Regions from separate parts of the Homo sapiens genome. Here all the other regions are linked to region 2. The links are contacts of gene promoters, found by promoter capture Hi-C in human tissues and cell types (Jung and others, 2019). All regions are on one chromosome and are shown on one strand. Each heading gives the region's core, a stretch centred on a gene start or on the middle of the fragment in contact. The rest is flanking DNA. Distances are from core to core; before and after follow the strand shown.

Region 1 (4,355 bases), core at 47-2,546, 420 kb before region 2:
GATATGTCTCCTTTTTTTTTTTTTTTTTTTTGAGATGGAGTCTCGCTCTGTTGCCCAGGCTGGAGTGCAGTGGCGTGATCTCAGCTCACTGCAAGCTCTGCCTCCTGGGTTCACACCATTCTCCTGCCTCAGCCTCCCGAGTAGCTGAGACTACAGGTGCCCACCACCACGCCTGGCTAATTTTTTGTATTTTTTAGTAGAGACGGGGTTTCACCGTGTTAGCCAGGATGGTCTTGATCTCCTGACCTCGTGATCCACCCACCTCGGCCTCCCAAAGTGCTGGGATTACAGGCGTGAGCCACTGCACCTGGCCAATATGTCTCTTAAATCTCTTTAAATATATATATTTTAATTGGGACTTTATTAATTTGATTTCTATGTAAAGAGTGAAAAAATTTCTCCCTCATTGTCAAATTGAATCATCAATACAATCTAAATAATTTAGTTGTGCTATTTGGAACATATTAGTTTTTGATGCAATGAAATAATCATAGTATGAGAAAAAAAGCAGTATCAAGGAAAAGAAAAAAGTAAGTTTAAAGACATCAATACTGTACAATTCAGCTATAAACACTTATAAAGACAAATTGATACAATCTAAGAAGGAATTCCTTAAAAAGCACGCATGGATGTAAGTCTGTATACCTTATTTGCATTATAAATTGGCAAAGTATCTCATTGTACAGTTATGGTATTTAGACAGATTTGTGGTTGTAAAGTTGGCACTTAAATATTTATCTTGTCTGTCAAGAAATATCACTTAAAATTTATTAAATAAGTACTATGCACTTTTAAATGTATACAGTTTTATTTAGGTATTGAATTAGCAATTCTCACAGGGGCCATTTTGTTTCAATTTGTGCTGACTTCATTGTTGGATATAACTTTCTCCACTGCAGGAATATCACCAGGCTAATTACTAGGAAATCTCTCTCTTTTTTTTTTGGTATATGGAGTAATATGTATGGATGAAAGGACCTTAAAATTGGAGGATTTTTCAATCTAAAATTAGATGCTCATACAAGAGAACCTCTTTCCTACTATAGACTCCCTTCTCCTTCCCCTAATCCCCATCCTGTTCTTAGCAGATGGTGACTGGGCTTATGCTAAAAACTTCCAGGGACAGAGACTTTGCTACTTGTACACAGGAAGACTATTCCATTTTGACGCAACTCAAATTACTAGAAAGTTCAACCTTATGAGACAATTTCTTTAATTTTGAAAATCATATCTTTGGCCATACTTCTGTTCTTTGTAGTAGGAAAAATTTATGTTCTCTCTTCTGTATAGTGGTATTTAAAATATTTAAAAAGATTTTCAGAAATGCTCTACACCTCAAAGATTTTTTATTTTCTAGGGAAAAAGTTTCTAAATGATCTCTTAATAGTTCCTTTAATAATTTGATTTCCAACTCTCTTACTGTCTTTCTCACTTTCTCTGAATGATTGATAGTGTTTAGAGGCCCCTCTATGTTATCAATAACTGATCAGAATATTTCATACTGATACGAACATCAAATTTCTCTTAGTTTAGCCTAAGATGTAAGGTTTTAAACTTTGCAGTTCAATTGCATTGTGTTTCTATGCTCAAATTAACTCATAGATTTTTTTACTTGAACTGCCAAAATATAAGACCCTCCTTAATTTATATTTGAGTGAAAGAGATTTTAAATCCAATTAAAATCAACCCATCAAAAAGTGGGTGAAGGATATGAACAGACACTTCTCAAAAGAAGACATTTATGTGGCCTACAAACATATGAAAAAAAGCTCATCATCACTGGTCATTAGAAAAATGCAAATCAAAACCACAATGGGATGCCATATCATGCCAGTCAGAATGGCGATCATTAAAAAGTCAGGAAACAACAGTTGTTGGAAAGGATGTGGAGAAATAGGAACTCTTTTACACTGTTGGTGGGAGTGTAAGTTAGTTCAACCATTGTGGAAGACAGTGTGGCAATTCCTCAAGGTTCTAGAACCAGAAATACCATTTAACCCAGCAATCCCATTACTGGGTATATACCCAAAGGATTATAAATCATTCTACTATAAAGACACATGCACACATATGTTTATTGCGGCACTATTCACAGTAGCGAAGACTTGGAACCAACCCAAATGTCCATCAGCGATAGACTGGATAAAGAAAATGTGGCACATATACACCATGGAATACCATGCAGCCATAAAAAAGGATGAGTTTATGTCCTTTGCAGGGACATGGATGAAGCTGGAAACCATCATTCTCAGCCAACTAACACAAGAACAGAAAACCAAACACTGCATGTTCTCATTCATAAGTGGGAGTTGAACAATGAGAACACATGGACACAGGGAGGGGAACATCACACACTGGGGCCTGTCAGGGGTGGGTGGCTGGGGGAGGGATAGCATTAGGAGAAATACCTAATGCAGATGATGGGTTGATGGGTGCAGCAAACCACCATGGCACATGTATACCTATGTAACAAACCTGCACGTTCTGCACATTTACCCCAGAACTTAAAGTATAATAATAATTAAAAAAACGTAGCCTAGTGATGTCAGCAAGATGGTAGAATAGGATTGTTTGTGCTCATCCCTTTGCAGAAACATCAGTTTGAAAAACTCAGTGTGCAAAAATACCTTCATAAGAGCTAAGGAATTTAGGTGAGAGATTATAGCACCTGGGTATAATACAGAAATAAGAACAAAAAAATCATTGAAGAGATTAGGAATGACAGTTTCAAATTACACATGGCACCCTTTCCCACAGCCTAGCTAGCACAGCACAGAGAAAGATATACTCTGCTTCTGAGTAGGAGAGTGAAGTGAGCACCAGACTTTGTTGTGGACCTGACCACCAGGCCTGCCCCAATAAAACTGAGTGCCAGCCTTGTGCTCAAGGCTTCAGGTTTTAGATTGGCACTTGTGAATTGAGCTTCCAGGTCTTCTCCAATGCTAGACCAGACCCAGCGGCCTCAGGCTCCAGGCCACACCTACAGACTCAGACTCCAGACTGGGCCTCACAAATCCAGGCACATCATTATCCCTTGCAGACTTAGGCACCAGTCCTGCCTGCCTGAAGGCTCCAACAGCAAGCCTACTCATGATCTCTGAATGAGCTGACTGAAGAAGGGCTTTGCTGACCAAAGCCAATCTGTAAAGACCAGAATAAGTACCAGCTTCTTCAAATGTGCAGACACCAATGCATGGCCACAAAGATCAGAAATAATCAGGGAAACATTATATCACCAAAGGAATAAAATGAAGCTCCAGTAACCTTAAAAATGGAAATGCGTGAACTACCTGATAAATAATTCAAAATAATCATTTTAGTGAGATATAAGAGAACACAGATAAGCAACTAAATAAAATCAGAAAAGCAAAACACAAATGAGAAGTACAATAAAGAGATATAAATCACAAAAAACAAAGCAGAAATTTTAGAACCAAAGAATACAATGCATGAAACAAAAAATTTCATAGCTTCAACAGCAGACTTGATAAAGCATAAGAATTTGAAATTACTCAGAGAAATAAAAAGAAAAAATTGAAAAGAATAAGGAAAGCCTGTGATGGGACACCAGCAAATGAACCAATATACGTATTATGGGTGTTGCAGAAGAAGCAGAGAAAAAGAAAGGAGGCAGAAGCTGTTTAAATAAAGATCCCCAGATCTAAAGAAAATGAACATCCAGATCCATGAAGCCCAAGAAATCCCAAATAGGAGTTAAGTTAAATGTGATTTAACTCCAATTGAAGCTTTGACTTCCGTTAACTTGGCTAGGCACTTGCTCACTACTCTCATCTGTCTTGCCTAATTTTGCTTCTTTTAACTTTTCCTTCAAAAGTAATTCTCATTCATGGAGAGGTTGGAAGCCACTTAAGATTGAATCACCCAGCTTTATCCCTTTTATCTGTTATCAATGACCCCCTTGCAACACTGACATATTGTTCTTTTTCTAAGTCCTTCCTTCAAGCATTGTCCTCACAGTCCTGTGGTCTTTCATGCTTGCGTGCCTCACTGCCTTCTAAGTTTTGAACACCCCTGGATAATTCTTAGAGTCTCTTGCTTCTGTTTTGTATTTGTCCTTGAATATGAAGTACTCGAAAAAGAGAGGAAAGGTCCCACCAAGAGAAGAATTTAAATGTTGTTCCCCCCTTTATGCCAACTCTTTCTTTTGCACACCTAATAAAAACTTCACACGATAAGCTTCCATGGAAAGTATTTATTGAACACATACTGTATCTTCAGTTAAACTAGACTTCTTTATTCAGTCCAGCTTTCCCCATGTTGTCCCATTTTCTAAGGTATCCAATATTCCATATGGCAAGACCAAAATGAAATAATCTGATACAATTTTCTCTGTA
Region 2 (4,267 bases), core at 954-3,453:
AGGGTATCTTCCCAAAGGTCCAAGTAAGGGGTCAGATCCCTGAACTGATAGGGATAAATAGTAAGTCATTTGTCTTCACTTAGCTTCAGTTTTTTCATCTGTGACATGGAGGTAATAGTGCCAGCACTCCCTGCTTCATGGGGTTTTAGAAGGATTTTGTGAGCTGGTGTACATAACAGGGCTTTGAAAAGTGAAATATTACAGAAATGTAAGGTAGACTCAAAAAGATATCATACCATCTCAGAACTAGATAAACAAACATAGGCTTTTAATCCTGTAGCTCTAGAGAGTCACCTGCCAGAAGGTTTGCATCACAGTGATTGCCCTTCTTACCTTCTATGCATATAAAAACATTCAGGGGAAACCATGTGAAAGAAGCTGTCTAAAATCCAAATAAAAATGAAGGAAGAAAAGGAATGGGAATGCCTGTGGAAGTGAGAATGGAGTTATGCCAAAGTTGTGCTTTCTACTGTCTCCTTGAAAAGAGCAATCTCCAGGCTTGCCTAGGTAGCAGAATAAGTGCTGCATGGAGAAGCTGGGGTTGGTTCTTTTCCTTGGAGATTCCTGGCCGGTAGCAAGCTATCTGTTGAAGAAGGACGAAAGGAGACAGCCCCTTCTGTGGATAGCACTTGTAGTAGCCTGTGCCTGCCATTGCTGCCAAACATCCACTTGACTAACAACCATTGATTTGAGGGACTGATCAATGGCAGCACTCTTGGTTGGAGCATCTAGTGATTTTCAAAATAACCCTTCTTTTGTTTTTGTTTTTGTTGTTTTTTTCTTTATTATGTTTTCCTCCAACAGCTGAGAGGGGGCGCTGGATGGGGCAGATCAAGAGGAGGTAGACCATAACGTTGAGTTTAATAGCCCAGCTCAGCTCAGGGCCAGAAGTGAACTGTTCATGAGTAATTTGCCCTCCAGCCCAGCTCTGAAAAGATCAAGTGTGTGCTCCCCCAGCCCAACTGCATAGCCAAATTGACAATAAAGTATGGCCGTGTCCCAGCTGTCATTGTTGTAAACTGTCCTGAAACGACCCTCACTCCTGGATACCTGATCTAGGGGGTTGTTAGGAGCTGCCACCCTAGAAACCTGCCCAGTCTCTGGTCCAAGTCGCACACATCAAGCTGAAGCTTCTTGATCCCTCAGGTCTCTTCCTCGCTTTGTCCACGCTTCTTTCCTTCTAGACTGTCTGGACACATTCTCAGTCACCTTTTCCGTACTATTTGCCTATTAATCCCACCCCTCCGCTCAGGTCACGCAGGTTCCCCTGCCCAGCTTCTGTCCCGAGCAGTAAACATACGGTCCGCAAGGGTTTGCTTTTTTGACCTGGGCGAAGTGTGTTGCCAACACGCACTTGGACCAGACTCGAGACAGCGGCCACTCGGCCAGGTCCCCCGGGGTCCAAACCGATACGAAATGGTGCCCTCTGCCCGTCGCCCCCTTGGGCTCCTTTTCAAGGGCAGCTATCACGCCGCCTCTGGTCCCTGAACTTTCATCACTCTTCGGGAAGCGCTTTGTCTTTTTAAAGGAGATTGGGGACGAATATTAATGACTGTAGCCGAGAATCTATCAAATCCGCCCAATTCCATGCCAGGGATAGACTCAGGTCCTTGCACCGAAGGCGAGCCCCTGACACTAGCTCGCGTTCTTCACACACGGTCACCCCGCAGACCCAGAGATTTCTCCCACTTCCCCAAATCTGCAGGAGAAACCATAGGAGGGGGTCACGAGGCACCATCCTGGAGCCCAGCTTCTCCTCTGCCCCAGTCCTCCGCATACAACCTGCTTCAAAAGCCCAGGAGAAAAGCAGTCACCTTGACTCTAGCGCCTCGGTCCTTAGGGGTTTGGAAAACGCCAGGAAGCCCAAGGCTACCCGGCACGCGCTCGCCTGGCCTGAGACCCACCCTGGAAGACGAGTTTCCCTCCCGCGGGCATCGTGGCAAGTTACCACTTAGTGGCAGATAAAGCAGGGCGGGGCAGGTGGAGCGGGCGCCGAGCGCCTAGCCCGCAGCCCCTGCGCGCCTACCTGGAATGGCTAAATTGGTGAGGGGGATGCTGTGCATGCTCTCCGGCAGAGTTGCCATCCAGTCGGCTAATTTCAGCTCGTTTTTCCCCTGAGACGAGGCCATCGTGCCAGTCGGCGTGCAGCGCGCTGGTCCCAGCACTCCTCGGGCAGGCTGGCAGGCTGCTGCCGCTAATCCAATGTTTGCTCTAGCCCCGCTAGAGTTTACACTCCTCTCTGCGCCACACCCACAGGATGGCGCAGACACATGCTAATTTTAATAATTATTCAAAACACCCCGTGCTCCCTTAGTGCCTCCGCCAGACTCCGCTGGAGCTTTTGTTCCTGACGTCCGTGCTCAGCTCTCTCCGCTCTCCCCTCCCTCCCCAACCCCCTCCTCCCGTCTTATCCTTCCTAGGCGTCTCTGCCTTTCCTCGCCATTCTGCAGCTTTCCCTGGTTTCTTATTTTTCTTTTCTATTCATTTTTTTCCAACTGCTTTGCCCATGGCTTGCTCGATCCTTTGCTGTGACTTTCTCGTCCTGTTTGTATGAAAGACAGTCTTGCACTTGAACCTAAAATCCTAGCAGACTTTGGGATGTTATTGCCTCCTGAGGAACAGACTTCTCATGCTGGGTTTCAGGGCTTTCCGTCCTTATCAAAGAGCTTTCCTTTTTGTAATCTACAACAGGTTATACCTTTCCTCAGCCAGAGACCACAACCCTGTTTATTAAAAAATGATTATCTTTATTCACTCTTTTGCCTACTTTGTGAAATAGCTGGTAAGTATGAGTCAGTGAAGGGCATGGTAAATTCTAGGTGGTTCCTACTTAATCCTGGGTACCTTGCTCCAGACATTTCAAAGTCAAGAAATGCTACTCCCCCTTCTTTTCTCAGATCATGAGAAGTCTACATTATTTCCATGGAGAACACTGCCTCTGTCCTGTCAGTTTCATGGCACTCAGGGTAAGACTGGAGCCTTATGCTGGAAGAAAATCGCCACATCTCCCAGTGACATGCTCTAATTATTGCCAGTAGCATTTGGTGGAATGTATTTGGCACCATTCAAAGTGATCTATGTGACTGTCTGCATTTTCATTCCTTTGCAGACTGGAAAGATGTGCCTCTCTCAAGAGAAATCACTCACTGGGCCTCCAAAGAACTGTCTGGGTCCACCTGCTCTCAGATGAGTAAAAGGAGAGAGATGAAGTTTTACAAATGTAATGAGAGCAGCAGTGGCCTGAATAGGAATTATAAGAGATGAACTGAAAGTGTGCTGGGCTTTTGCAACCCAGGAAATGGAAATGCAATAAACAGACCTCTGTTCTTTCATGCCAGGGTTGTGTAAATTTTTATTTTTCTATGGGAAATGCTATTAGATTGCGGAAATGACAATCAACATAGGAGACAAAGAGAGCCATGAAACATGAGAATAATTATTCAAGGTTAGTAAATCCATTTAATCCCAAATAGCATTAAAAAATAAGAAAAAACCTAGAGCCTACCTTATTTTCTACAATGATGCTAAGTCCTAAGAATATTCACCCCCAAATGGGGAGCACTATGGGAAAGATAGAGGAGAGGCAACGCCTTATTTTGGTTATCAAATTTTCCATGCCCCTTGTAAAATAAATTCATACCTTCAAGAGGACATGGTACAGTTATCTTTAGTGATGAGGAAGAGATATACTGAAAATTTTCCCCAAATAAATCTTAATATACATGCTAGTACAATAGAACCCACATATCCTTTTAATTAGGATGATAGTTTAGCTTACTATAGGACTCTTGGTCAAGAGATCTACAAACACCACCCTTCTGTAAGAAACCTACAAACACCACCTAATGCTGGTGGTCTCAGGGCATGATTGCAAGGCAATGAGGAAAATTCAAATCTAGTGGTCAGCTGCTCTGTCTCTGAGTAGTTTGGGCAAGTCCTCTAGTCTCTGCTAGCCCCAGTTTTCTCCATTATAAAGTGGTAATAAGAACTCAGAGATTTGTGGTGAAGCTTCCAGAAGAGAGTGCATACATGTTTAAGATAACAGGATATGTGTATTTACCACTCTTTGTCTTTTCTATACTTATGAAGTATTTTTTTCAAAAGCATGAAATAATTATTGAATCTGGGGTACATTTTTAATAAGACACATTTTAGAAACATGCCCTGTTAAAGTATATTGAGCTTATGTGGCCCTAAAAATTTACAAAGCATTTTTTACAAAATGAAACCACCTTAACTGGTGAGGAAAGTTCCCCTCTATAAAGAA
Region 3 (4,104 bases), core at 68-2,567, 260 kb before region 2:
AGAAAATCTTTGACTCCACCGTTGGCATGTGAGTGGGCTGAACCAATATATACCTCACATTTATTGATTTATGTCTTTGCCTGTAACTTTTGTCTCCTTAAAATGTGTAAAACCAAGCTGTAACTCAACCACCTTGGGCACATGTTCTAAGGACTTCTTGAGGTTGTGTTCCAGGCCATGGTCTGTCATATTTGAGTCATATTTGGCTCAGAATAAACTTCTTCAAATATTTTTGAAGAGGGGAAGAAGGCATGGGCTTGAATTGAAATCTGATTATATGTTAAGAATGACATGTAATTGTTTTAAGCATTTGATTATGAAGTCCCTTGGTATACTTTTCTTCATTTATGTTATGCATGGGATTTTTCCTTTCTGGCTGGTAGGAATATAAACATCTCCAACCTTGTTTGAGCTCTGTGGTTTTCACCTGTAATCCAACCTCTTGGGTGGTTCTTTGCTGGGCCTCAGGTGGTTTCCTCATACCTGTGAGCTGACTGATACTCACCCAAAGGCTGGAGGAGGGCCCTCACCAAATTTTTATCTCATAAATCTCTCTCTGTGTAGCTCTCTCCTTTTTGTTACCCTGCCCTGTGAACTCTAGTTGGCTGTACATCCTTACAGTCCCAAGTCTGTTTTCTTAACTCTGGGAGACTCCCAGGCTCCACTTGGGATTTTCCTCCTTTTCTTGAGGCCTAAAAACTTTTATCAAGGCTGTAAACTAGGGCAATTGTAGGACCCACCTAATTTGTTTTCTCTCTCCCAGGAATCACTGCTCTATAGAGTGTAGGGTCCAATGGCTGAAAAACCATTGTTTTATTTAGCTTGTTTTTAGGTTATTTTGGATTGTCCTTGTTACGCTTTCTTGATCCAGAGTGGAATGTAATTGTACGGATAATATGTGCTATTGTTTATATCAACATCAACAATAAAGAAAGTGTTTTTTAAAAATATGGTATTTTTATTGTAATTTCTCCAAAGCTGTAATTAAATTGATAGTGCTTCCTAAAGGTGTTTTTGAGTTGTAAAAAATACATTGTATGCAACAGTGAAAAAATATTTTGATAATTATGCCCAAAAGGCAATGTGTAATTTGGGATTTTATAACATTCCAAGTTCTCTAAGTATAGATCCCAACCTTAAAAGTTGCAAATATGGGCAAATTTCACACAGTTGGCCTTATTTATTAATAGTACATGTTTCTAGGAATAACTTATGTATAAAAGTACGTTCCTGACTGCAATATATATAGGAAAAAATTATTACATAGAAAAGAAAGAATAGTTTTGGCCAGGCATGGTGGCTCACACCTATAATCCCAGCACTTTGGGAGGCCGAGGTGGGTGGATCACTAGGTCAAGAGATCGAGACCATCCTGGCTAACACGGTGAAACCCCATCTCTACTAAAAATACAAAAAATTAAATTAGCCGGGTGTGGTGATGGGCGCCTGTAGTCCCAACTACTTGGGAGGCTGAGGCAGGAGAATGGCGTGAACCCAGGAGGTGGAGCTTGCAGTGAGCCGAGACTGCACCACTGTACTCCAGCCTGGGCAACAGAGCAAGACTCCATCTCAAAAAAAGAAAGAGAAAGAATAGTTTTATAATTTTTGTCTTCTCCTTAGCTAGTAAAATAGAGTTTCTACAGAAGTACCTACATGTATAGCCTCCATTTCTTAGGTTTAATTAAAATATTACTTATAGATTATATCACCAGCCTCATTATATAGCTACCAAGTGGAGAGTGAAGAGAACCTTGATAACTCCCTTTACAGAACCTTCACAATTATTCTAATTATTATCTGATAGATCAGAGATTACCACTGTGTATTTCAGCTCAATGTAAATGTTAAGTGATCCCTATAGAAAGGAAATCATAATACAGTGTTGGAATAGACTTTAATCAAATTGACAACATTTTATCTTTATAAAATTTTAACTGAAGAACAGTTGCAATCCAGAAAGCAAGATTTACAGGAAGCACACAGTGACTAGTCCTGCAAGAGTTTATGTGACTTCTGCTACTATGGATCTCAGTGAAAGCGTTTTAGTCTCCTAGATAATTTTGCAAATGAGTAGACAGGTATAGAGGGATTGTGTCACTTTAAATTTTGCAAGAAATTGGTGAAGACCCAGAGTATAATGCATAGGTGCTCATGTCTGATTCCTGGTCATCCACATCAACTTCCCAGAGAACAAATGCTTTGAGGGGCCAACTAGAAATTAACTTTAAAAAAGGATAAGAGTCTTGGCCAGGCATGGTGGCTCATCTCTGTAATTCCAGCACTTTGGGAGGCCAAGGTGGGCAGATCACTTGAGGCAGGAGTTCAAGACCAGCCTGACCAACATGGTGAAACCCTGTCTCTACTAAAAATACAAAAATTAGGCGGGCATGGTGGTGGGTGCCTGTAATCCCAGCTACTCGGGAGACTGAGGCATGGGAATTGCTTAAACCTGGGAGGCGGCGGCCGCAGTGAGCCGAGATCGCCCCACTGCACTCCAGCCTGGGAGACAGAGTGAGATTCCGTTAAAAAAAAAAAAAAGATAAGAGTCTTAACATGGTTACACAAGATCCACTTTCATTCTTTCATATTCTTGGTAGAAGGGAAATTGGACTCTTTGGGCTGCAAGTAACGGAGACAAGGGCTTACTTATAGGAAATATATATAGTAGTACAAGTGTGTCTTATGGAATCAATGACAGTCATGAAGCCAAGCCTTGGGAAGGGACTCTAATCAGGAAATAGGAAACTGTGAAGCCTGAACATATCTCCACTTCTCTCTGCCTACAATATGCATTCTTATACCTGCCCTGATTGGCTTTTGATTTTTGTGGTCTATGAAGGGAAGACAATGTTTCACAACTGAATTTACGTGCTATAGGTCTGTCAAAAGTAAAAACAAATTGGCAGTTCCAATTCTTAATTCCCAGAGAAGGGAATATGAGTGGCCAGCTTGGTCAGGAGTTGACCTGTGGTCCAATAAGGAGATTATATTACTGTAAAGAGCTTATTTTTATAGTTCAGCCTCTACAGAGGGAATAGTTCCCAGGTAAGGCAAAATCATTGTGAAAAGATGTCTAAGCATCTGTGAGTGGAGATGTGCTAACAGAAAGGAAGTATGGGGTTACATTCCCAACTTTTGACAAGTTAGTATCATGAGGTTGCTGTGCAGTGAGAGCAAATGTCATGTTAGATGTAATTTGGGGTTAAGAGTCTTAGATTCTTGCGATAGTTTACTGAGAATGATGGTTTCCAGTTTCATCCATGTCCCTACAAAGGACATGAACTCATCATTTTTTATGGCTGCATAGTATTCCATGGTGTATATGTGCCACATTTTCTTAATCCAGTCTATCATTGTTGGACATTTGGGTTGGTTCCAAGTCTTTGCTATTGTGAATAATGCCGCAATAAACATACGTGTGCATGTGTCTTTATAGCAGCATGATTTATAGTCATTTGGGTATAGGATAGCATTGGGAGATATACCTAATGCTAGATGACGAGTTAGTGGGTGCAGCACACCAGCATGGCACATGTATACATATATAACTAACGTGCACAATGTGCACATATACCCTAAAACTTAAAGTATAATTAAAAAAAAAAAAGTAAAAAAAAAAAAAAAAGAGTCTTAGATTCTACAGGCCTCAGGCTGGACTGCACCACCCAGACTGCTAAGCTTCCCTTAACGTCACCTTTTCAGTTACTGAAATCAGAGGGCCCCACTGCTGAGAGAATTTTGTGGTTTGATGACAGCTAATCTTTGTATCACACAGGGGTTTCTCAATGTTGGATATAAGTTCTCTGGCATAAAGCTTGCCTGGTTTTATGTTACGATATCCTGCCTCTAATGACCTCAATAATGTTGCCAACTGCACCGTATTCCAAGCCAACCTTCTTTTTTTCTGGAATATCTGTACCTTACGAGCAGATTGAGTCTCTTATTAGACAGATTGAAGGCCAGCCAGCTCCTTGATAAAAGGGAACACATTTTACAAATGGGTAAAGGAACAATTGCCTCATGGTGCAATATCAGTGGGAGGTTCCCATACCCACTTTCCATCCCCAAGTCCAATGAGGTGTGTTTTGTTTTCTGAATGAGGTA

Evidence for each region. The method cuts DNA at HindIII sites, captures the fragments that hold promoters and counts their contacts. A contact is called where the count stands out against the background at its distance.
Region 1: a fragment that was not itself captured here is called in contact with the fragment with the promoter of PLCXD3 in region 2 in 1 of the 25 tissues and cell types used here (mesendoderm cells).
Region 3: a fragment that was not itself captured here is called in contact with the fragment with the promoter of PLCXD3 in region 2 in 3 of the 25 tissues and cell types used here (dorsolateral prefrontal cortex, heart left ventricle and hippocampus).

Annotation. Positions count from the first base shown.
Region 1 is chr5:41,088,741-41,093,095 of GRCh38, forward strand. All of the region lies in intron 3 of LOC105374739 (a long non-coding RNA gene), which reads left to right. Among named protein-coding and RNA genes, the nearest start is that of MROH2B, 20 kb to the left of the region's middle. The HindIII fragment of the contact is 5,349 bases long and covers 1-3,971 here.
Region 2 is chr5:41,508,398-41,512,664 of GRCh38, forward strand. PLCXD3 (phosphatidylinositol specific phospholipase C X domain containing 3) reads right to left here and starts at 2,204. Exons shown (of 3, transcript NM_001005473.3): 1 at 2,027-2,204. The coding sequence starts at 2,129. RefSeq lists an enhancer at 1,730-2,558. The HindIII fragment of the contact is 4,804 bases long and covers 427-4,267 here.
Region 3 is chr5:41,252,835-41,256,938 of GRCh38, forward strand. It overlaps a transcript of C6 not described here. Among named protein-coding and RNA genes, the nearest start is that of C6, 41 kb to the left of the region's middle. RefSeq lists an enhancer at 1-193. The HindIII fragment of the contact is 4,857 bases long and covers 1-3,746 here.